2 separate regions of the Homo sapiens genome follow, and region 2 is linked to region 1. The links are contacts of gene promoters, found by promoter capture Hi-C in blood cells and fetal thymus (Javierre and others, 2016). All regions are on one chromosome and are shown on one strand. The core of a region is centred on a gene start or on the middle of the fragment in contact, and the rest is flanking DNA. Distances in the headings are between cores, read along the strand shown. Region 1 holds the start of CEP250-AS1 (CEP250 antisense RNA 1). Region 2 overlaps RBM39 (RNA binding motif protein 39).

The links. Contacts are between HindIII fragments. The CHiCAGO score rates a contact against its expected background, and 5 or more counts as called.
Region 2: a contact is called between a fragment that was not itself captured here and the fragment with the promoter of CEP250-AS1 in region 1, in 1 of 17 cell types (erythroblasts). The highest score is 5.3, in erythroblasts.

Annotation. Positions count from the first base shown.
Region 1 is chr20:35,488,644-35,493,006 of GRCh38, forward strand. CEP250-AS1 (CEP250 antisense RNA 1) reads right to left here and starts at 2,339. Exons shown (of 3, transcript NR_184017.1): 1 at 2,213-2,339. It overlaps CEP250 (centrosomal protein 250), which reads left to right. Exons shown (of 35, transcript NM_007186.6): 21 at 1,994-2,161; 22 at 2,569-2,703. RefSeq lists an enhancer at 2,138-2,297. The HindIII fragment of the contact is 5,140 bases long and covers 1,031-4,363 here.
Region 2 is chr20:35,735,498-35,739,860 of GRCh38, forward strand. It overlaps RBM39 (RNA binding motif protein 39), which reads right to left. Exons shown (of 17, transcript NM_184234.3): 3 at 3,471-3,520. Among named protein-coding and RNA genes, the nearest start is that of RBM39, 4.6 kb to the right of the region's middle. The HindIII fragment of the contact is 2,513 bases long and covers 852-3,364 here.

The sequences.
Region 1 (4,363 bases), core at 1,089-3,588:
TGTAGATAAGGGGTTTCACCATGTTGCCTAGGCTGGTCTCAAACTCTTGGGCTCAAGTGATCATCCTACCTCGGCCTCGCAAAATGTTGGGATAATATATGTGAACTACCACGTCCAGCCAGACCACTGTCAATTGTATGGTCTGGGAAGGCTTCACCAAGGAAGTGTTAGTTTAGGCGTGAGGAATGATGGAGTAGGGGGGAGAAGGGCTTTCCAGGTAGAAGGAAGCATGAGTAAAGGCTCTAAGGCATGAACATGTTGGCTGGGTGCAGTGGCTCACACCTGTAATCCTAGCACTTTGGGAGGCCTAAGCGGGCAGATCACTTGAGGTTAGGAGTTCAAAACCAGCCTGGCCAACGTGGTGAAACCATGTCTCTACTAAAAATACAAAAAAAATAGCTGGGAGTGGTGGCGGGCGCCTGTAATCCCAGCTACTTGGGAGGCTGAGGCGGGAGAATCACTTGAACTTGGGAGGCAGAGGTTGCAGTGAGCCGAGATCACCCCACTGCACTCCAGCCTGGGCGATAGAGTGAGACTCTGTCTCAAAAAAAAAAAAAAAGTGCTTAGTGTGCTCAAGGACCTGCAAGGAGGCAAGTGTGTGTAGCCAGGGTGTAGTGAATGAGGGGGAAAGCTGCACAGGATGACACTGGGAAGGCTGAAACACTAGAGGCGTTCCCATTACATGAATAAGCAACGACAAACTTACAAGCATTTTAAAGGAAAAGTGCAGGGAATACTAATGTGATGATGATGCTGGCTGTTGTGTATTGCCCGCTTTCTGTGTGCTACGCACATTTAAAGTGATTCACATGACTTATCTCCATCCTCAATACAACCTGAGGAGAATGACACTGTTGTTATCCCCATTTTAATAGATGAAGAAACTGAGGCACAGAGTTGTTTAGAAATTGAGATCATGCTAGTAGTGGTAGATTAAAGATTCTCCACCCAGGCAGCCCAACTCCAGAGCCCTTCACCTCTATCCTGTACACCTAATAGAGGGTCCTGAACTAGTCAGAGAGCTTGGGAAAGCTTTGGTTGCTGGAAGACCGCTAAGACAAGAAGCACCCCTATCCTAATGCTCTTATATAATACAGGGAGACATCCTCACTGGGCCAGGCCTGATTCTTCAGGGGCTAACTCTGCAACTCTGAGTAGAGGAGAGCAGGCAGCAGACAGCCAGAATTGGCCGCCTCAGTTCATTGTTACAACTGTCAACCACAATGTGGCTGCTTTAAAGATAACAAATACGGAGCTGTGTGTGGTGTCATGCCCCTGTGTTCTTAGCTACTCAGGAGGCTGAGGCAGGAGGACCACTTGCGCCCAGGAGTTCGAGTCCAGCCTGGGCAACATAGTGAGACCCCATCTCTAAAAATAAGAATGCCTAGGCTAGGCACAGTGGCTCATGCCTATAATCCCAGCACTTTGGGAGGCCGAGGCAGGCAGATCACTTGAGGTCAGGAGTTCATGACCAGCCTGGCCAACATGTTGAAACCCCATCTCTACTAAAAATACAAAAATTAGCTGGGCATGGTGGGGGGCACCTGTAGTCCCAGCTGCTAGGGAGGCTGAGACAGGAGAATCACTTGAACCTGAAAGGTGGAGGTTGCAGTGAGCGGAGATCGTGCCACTGCAGTCCAGCCTGGGTGACAGGGCAAGACTCCGTCTCCAAAAAAAAATTAAAAATAGAAATACATTTTAAAACCCAGATACTTGTAGCATATATAAGGGACAATTGCAGTTTGGAAGGTACTTCCACATGTATTATATAATTTTATTTTTTAAAATGAATCTCATTTGGTTGTCATGAAATTTGGTAAGATAGATAAGGCAGGGAATATTAGCCTTGCTTTACAGATGAGGCAACAGGCTTAGAGAGGTACCAAGGTCACCCCACTAGTGAGTAGTAGAGAGACTTTGTTTTTCCAATCCAGTACCCCTGCCTCCCCTCCTCACCCATTTGGTTCTAATGGTGTTTCCTTCATGTGGCCAGGAGAAGGAGCGCTCCTGGCACCAGCAGGAGCTGGCAAAGGCTCTGGAGAGCTTAGAAAGGGAAAAAATGGAGCTGGAAATGAGGCTAAAGGAGCAGCAGACAGAAATGGAGGCCATCCAGGCCCAGAGGGAAGAAGAACGGACCCAGGCAGAGAGTGCCCTATGCCAGGTGGGAAGCTAGGAGGATTGGAGCTGCACGTCCAGTCAGCGATCTCCTTACCTTGACCACTTCCTTTTCTACTCCCAAGAGGAGTGCTGCAGAGGGGCTTCCAGAAGAGAGGGTAGCTACCCACTTTGCTAACAGTGAGCAGGGTGGTCCGCACCATTAGCCACAGTTCCGGCAGTATGTCATACTTCCTGAGGGAGGGCTGACATGTACCACATCCTGTCAGCTTGCAAACCAGTGGTAATCTTTGCACTTCCTTGTTCTGAACCCATGGGCTCAGACCTTCCTTTGCCCTCAGCCCCTTCCCATTTGCTAGGAGAGCCCTAGGGCAGCTGGGATGTGCTTGTGGCCTCGTTGGTGAGCATGGTAATCCTGAGCCCACAAGCTGTTACCCCCCTACCCCTCCACAGATGCAGCTGGAAACAGAGAAGGAGAGAGTATCCCTCCTGGAGACACTGCTGCAGACGCAGAAGGAGCTAGCAGATGCCAGCCAACAACTGGAACGACTGAGGCAGGACATGAAAGTCCAGAAATTAAAGGAGCAGGTATGGAGGGTGGTCTCGGGAGTAGGGGAGAAAGGGGCACTCATTTACCCATTCGACCATGAAGGGTTCTTGGGCACTTCTTATGTGCCAGGCCCTGTGCTAGGTGCTGACATATGACAAGTACATAAAGGTATGGCACAGGCTGGGCAGGGTAGATCACGCCTGTAATCCCAGCACTTTGGCAGGCCAAGGTGGGTGGATCACCTAAGGTCAGGAGTTAAAGACCAACCTGAGCAACATGGTGAAACCCATCTCTACTAAAAATACAAAAATTAGCCGGGCATGGTGGCAGGCCCCTGTAATCCCAGCACATTGGGAGGCTGAGGCGGACAGATCAGTTGAGGTCAGGAGTTCGAGACTAGCCTGGCCAACATGGTGAAACCTCATCTCTACAAAAATACAAAAATTAGCTGTGTGTGGTGGCATTTGCCTGTAATCCCAGCTGCTTGGGAGGCTGAAGCAGGAGAATAGCTTGAGCCCAGGAGGCGGAGGTTGCAGTGAGCCGAGGTCACGCCACTGCATTCCAGCCTTGGTGATAGAGCGAGTCTCAAAAAAAAAAAAAAAAAAAAAAAGGTGTGGCACAGCAGTCAGCATAACAGACATTGCCCCTGCTCTCAAGGAACTTACATTCCTGTGGCAGAAATGGATGACAAATGAGCAGACACAAAGTAAATGAGATTATTACAGTTTGTGATAAGTGCTGTAAAGGAAATAGAATGATACAACTGAGAGTGAGTCAAAGGAGGTTCACTTTGCACTTAGTGGTCAGGGAAGGCCTCACTGAGAAAGTAACATCTGAGCTGAGACTTGAAGGTTAGAAAGAAACCAGCTCCGTGATACAACATAGGTGAACCTTGAAAACATCAGGTTAAGTGGAAGAGCCATATATTTTATATGATATGCTTCCATTTATATGAAACACCAAGAATAGGCAACTCTATAGAGGCAGAAAACAGATTTATGGTGGGGAATGGGGTGGGGAATGGGGATTGACTGTGAATGGGCACGGGGTTTATTTTGGGATTGATGGAAATGTTCTAAGATTGATTGCGATGATAGTTGCACAACTCTGTGAATATCCTAAAACCCACTACACAGTATACGTTAAATGAGTGAATTGTATGGTATATGAGTTATATCTCAAGCCATTTGAAAAAAAAAATGCCTGCCATGTGAAGAACACTTTAGGCAGAGGAAACACCTGTCGCAAGGGCCCTGGGACACAGAAGAGGGCTTGGGAAGTTCAAGGACAAAAAGGAGGCAGTGTGGCTCCAGCTTGATAAACTCAGGGGCGAGTGGAGCGGTAGCCAGAAGCCCTGTGTCAGCCATTGTAGGAGCTTGGATTTTGTTCTAAGAGCAATGGGAAACTGTTGGGTGGTATGTATGTATGTATTTGTTTGAGACTGAGTCTCGCTCTGTCACCCAGGCTAGAGTGCGGTGGCACTATCTCAGCTCACTGCAACCTTCGCCTCCCAGGTTCAAGCAATTCTTGTGCCTCAGCCTCCCAAGTAGCTGGGATTACAGGTGCCCGCCACCATGCTTGGCTAATTTTTGTATTTTTAGTGGAGAAAGGGTTTCACCATGTTGGCCAGGGTCGTCTCAAACTTCTGACCTCAAGTGATCCACCCACCTTGGTTTCCCTAAGTGTTGGGATGATAGG
Region 2 (4,363 bases), core at 858-3,357, 250 kb after region 1:
TAACAAACTATAGCTCAATGTGGCTTTTAAGACAATGAAGTTTTAGAATGAAAAATGCAACACGGCACTTTCCTTTGGTTAAGAAATTTAATTTAGTACTAAAGGTTTAAAGCAGAGTGTTCTGTATGTTTTATATCTATTCCTAAATACAAAAATTTTCTTCCAGGTAACTTTAAAATTAATTTGAAACATAAAGTTCCTTCAGAAAATCAAGAGTCCTGATTGAACAAGGGAATCATTTATTTATCACCTATAATTGACGAGAAGTCTGACTGGAAAGTATTTTAAGATTACCAAAGTGTTTTGAAAGGATCTTCCCTTAGACAATCTCATGGTTAAAGAAAATTGTCCATTCTCCTATTTAGTCCTGTGGTTCTCTACATTAGACAAAGGCCACCGAATATCACACATGGAGAACTTGATGCTCAGCTTCCTTGTAAAAGCTTGTAGCCTTAATCAGCTTATACACAGGATAAAAACAAGTAGACACCGGAGATGACCTTAGTGGCAAAAAGCGACATGAGACAATGGTACAGTAACGAAGGTCTGTACCCAAAAGTGTACGTTCTTATCCTTCTGGCACTTGAAGCGAAATCTTTAGCCACTCGGCCTGACACCTAAATTGGATAATTTATGTCAATTTATATGGATACACCTTCCTGGGTTTTCTTTTGATTAGAGAATTGCAAAACAAAAACATTAGGAAACCATTACTGTGGCAGAAAGTCTAAAACCAGATGACATAAACCATACCTCTGGTTGGTTGCATCAGATCCCACATCAAGACTAAACCCAACCTGATCCCCACAATTTCTTGTGATTGGTGAGGAACTATAAATGACTCCCATCCAAGCTTATACCAGAAAAAAGGAGCACATTTTCTACAAATTATATCATTTTTAATCCATTACCACATTATTTTAGGGGAACTACAAAAAAAAAAAATAGTGGCTTAACAAGCCCTGAATAACATTATATATTTTCTCATCTGTTTTATGAAATTTTATCAACCTACCTAACACAGTTGTAGTGAGAAAGACTGACATACTTACTATGAAGCATTTAGGGATCTTAGGAGGAAAAGAGCCAAAAAGAAATCAAATAAATGGCTATTTTTCTCTCGTTTTTCATTAACATAAGGTCGTAAGTATGACAGATTTTTATGTTTGTTTGAGACGGAGTCTCGCTCTGTCTCCAGGCTGGAGTACAATGGCATAATCTCAGCTCATTACAACCTCTGCCTCCCAGGTTCAAGCGATTCTCCTGCCTCAGCCTCCCGAGAGTAGCTGGGACTACAGGCGTGCACCACCACGCCCAGCTAATTTTTGTATTTTTAGTAGAGACGGGGTTTCACCATGTTGGCCAGGATGGTCTCGATCTCCTGACCTTGTGATCCACCCGCCTGAGCCTCCCAAAGTGCTGGGATTACAGGTGTGAGCCACCACGCCAAGCCCAGACTTTTTTTTTAAGACGGAGTCTCAGTTGGGTCCATGTCTCACGCCTGTAATCCCAGCACTTTGGGAAGCCAAGGCGGGCGGATCATGAGGTCAAGAGATGGAGACCATCCTGGCCAACATCGTGAAACCCTGTCTCTACTAAAAACACAAAAATTGGCTGGGCATGATGGCTCACGCCTGTAATCCCAGCACTTTGGGAGGCCAAGGCAGGTGGATCACGAGGTCAGGAGTTGAAGACCAGCCTGGCCAGGATGGTGAATCCCCATCTCTACCAAAAGTACAAAAATTAGCCAGGTGCGGTGGCAGGCACCTGTAATCCCAGCTGCTCGGGAGGCTGAGGCGGAAGAATCGCTTAAGCCCGGGTGGCAGAGGTTGCAGTGAGCCAAGACTGCGCCACTGCACTCCAGCCTGGGCAACAGACTGAAACTCCATCTCAAAAAAAAAAAAAAAAAAAAATTAGCCAGGCGTGGTGGCAGGAACCTGTAATCCCAGCTACTCGGGAGGCTGAGGCAGGAGAACTGCCTGAACCCAGGAGGCAGAGGTTGCTGTGAGCTGAGATCGTGTCATGGCGCTCCAGCCTGGGTGACAAAAACGAAACTCTGTCTCAAAGAAAAAATAAAGACAGAGGCTGGGCACGGTGGCTCACACCTGTAATCCCAGCACTTTTGGAGGCCAAGGCAGGCGGATCACAAGGTCAATTCTGGCTAACACAATGAAACCCTGTCTCTACTAAAATTACAAAAAATTAGCCAGGCATGGTGGCAGGCGCCTGTAGTCCCTGCTACCTGGGAGGCTGAGGCAGGAGAATAGCATGAACCCAGGAGGCGGAGCTTGCAGTGAGCAGAGATCACACCACTGCACTCCAGCCTGGGCAACAGAGCAAGACTCCGTGTCAAAAAAAAAAAAAAAAAAAAAAAGGCCAGGCGCGGTGGCTCACACCTGTAATCCCAACACTTTGGGAGGCCACAGCAGGAGGATCATGAGAGGTCAGGAGATGGAGACCATTCTGGCTAACACGGTGAAACTCCCTCTCTACTAAAAATAAAAAAAAAATTAGCCAGGCGTGATGGCGCGCGCCTGTAGTCCCAGCTAATCGGAGGCTGAGGCAGGGGAATCACTTGAATCTGGGAGGCAGTGGTTGCAGTGAGCCGTGATAGAACCACTGCACCCCAGCCTGGGCGACACTGCCAGACTCCATGTCAAAGAAAAAAAAAAAAATCAAAGAATCACTTGAACCCAGGAGGCGGAGGTTGCAGTGAGCCCAGACTGCGCCACTGCGCTCCAGCCTGGGCTACAGAGCAAGACTCCGACTCACAAGAAAAGAAAAAAAAAAAGTGGATCTCATCATATCTGTTACCTAAGACTTTTCGTACACTGTTTTCTGTACTAGTCTATAGCAGAGTTCTATTGAGTCACTCATCTTACCCAAATAAAGTGTACAGATATATTCATAATTTCCAAAATCCCCACCCTGTTAAGTCTAGAGTTTAAAAGGCCTAAGATAATGAAAGCCACCTTTAGAAGTACTTAAGTACCTGTTCCATCACTTCCAAAAGGGCCTCTGAGCAGCAAGTTGCAGAAATAATTCACAGCTTTGACTCCTTCGGCACTTTAGGGCAAACAATACTTTCCATGGCCTAGTTATCACCTAATTTAACTCTTTCTACCTTTTAAGATCAATGGATATATAACAGTTTTATCAGTAAGATAACCAAATATCAAACCAAAGTTAACAAATTTAAAACAAGACAACCTCTAATACAGAACTTGTCACCAGATTGTCATGATGGACTTGGAGGGGAAGGTATCTGAAACTATATTCTGAAATCTAAGCAAAAAAATCCACAGTTCCTCCAAGAGTTTGTCTCAAAAGGCAAAGAACCAATTTTCTAAAAGCAGCAAAGAAAAGCTTCAGAAGAGAATTTTGTATACTTTAGCCACAGGAACACAACTTAAGGTCTAAAACCACAAAAAAGCTCACCACCCTCCCCCAAGCCCCTTCTTAAAACTCACTTTTTGCTACGTTCTTCATGGCCGTTGGCACTGCTCAACTTGTTCTCATCCTAAGCAGGGTTGATAGAAGAACATCATGAGGACGAAGTGGTAACATTTCAAGTTGTCAAAGGGTAAAGGGAACAGGAATAAGAAAATACAAAACAATTTTAAAACTAATTATTTACTTATAGTTTAACATGGAAGGCTATAAAAAAATTTAGATGGGTATGTGTTTAACCACTTTGTTGCTTACATTTAAGTCATCAAGATACAAAAATAAAAAAATTTTCCATATTAACATGTTAAATTTTACTTTCTTATATAGTTTAGATATTAAAAGTTATCCAGATTTACAATGTTGAAGTGGTTAAATATAATTTCCATAAAACATGAAGTCCTGTTTTGAGTTTTATTCCATGTGCTATGGTCCCTTTGGTCAGTACCATGGCTCTATTTCTGCCTAAGCCCCAAGTGGCCATGCTAGCAGCCAGCCACTATCGATTTCCTGTGACCGATGCCATTCCTGAGATCTTCGCCCATTTCCGTTGGAGGGTTGGGACTGTAAGAGCTTGATGCCACCTCTGTCACACATCTCGCCCTGAAGCAAACAGGGATTCACACTGCTTTAGTAATGTTGACTCCCAAGAACCCAAGAAAGTCAATTAATAATCCACCAAGTCCAGCCTAAACATTTCCTACTTCCATACCTGTTTACATGGAATTACATCCATGTTAAAAAAAACTAAGACACAAGAATCTTAACATTAAAACAGAAAGTAGCTCTTCAAGAGTCTAAGCATTACAAAATTACATACACTATTTAAATCTATCAAGAATTCATCCAAATTGGTACCACATGGTCGTGCTATACAATCCAAAACAAATGTATTATTTTTAAAAGGTTTAGTGAA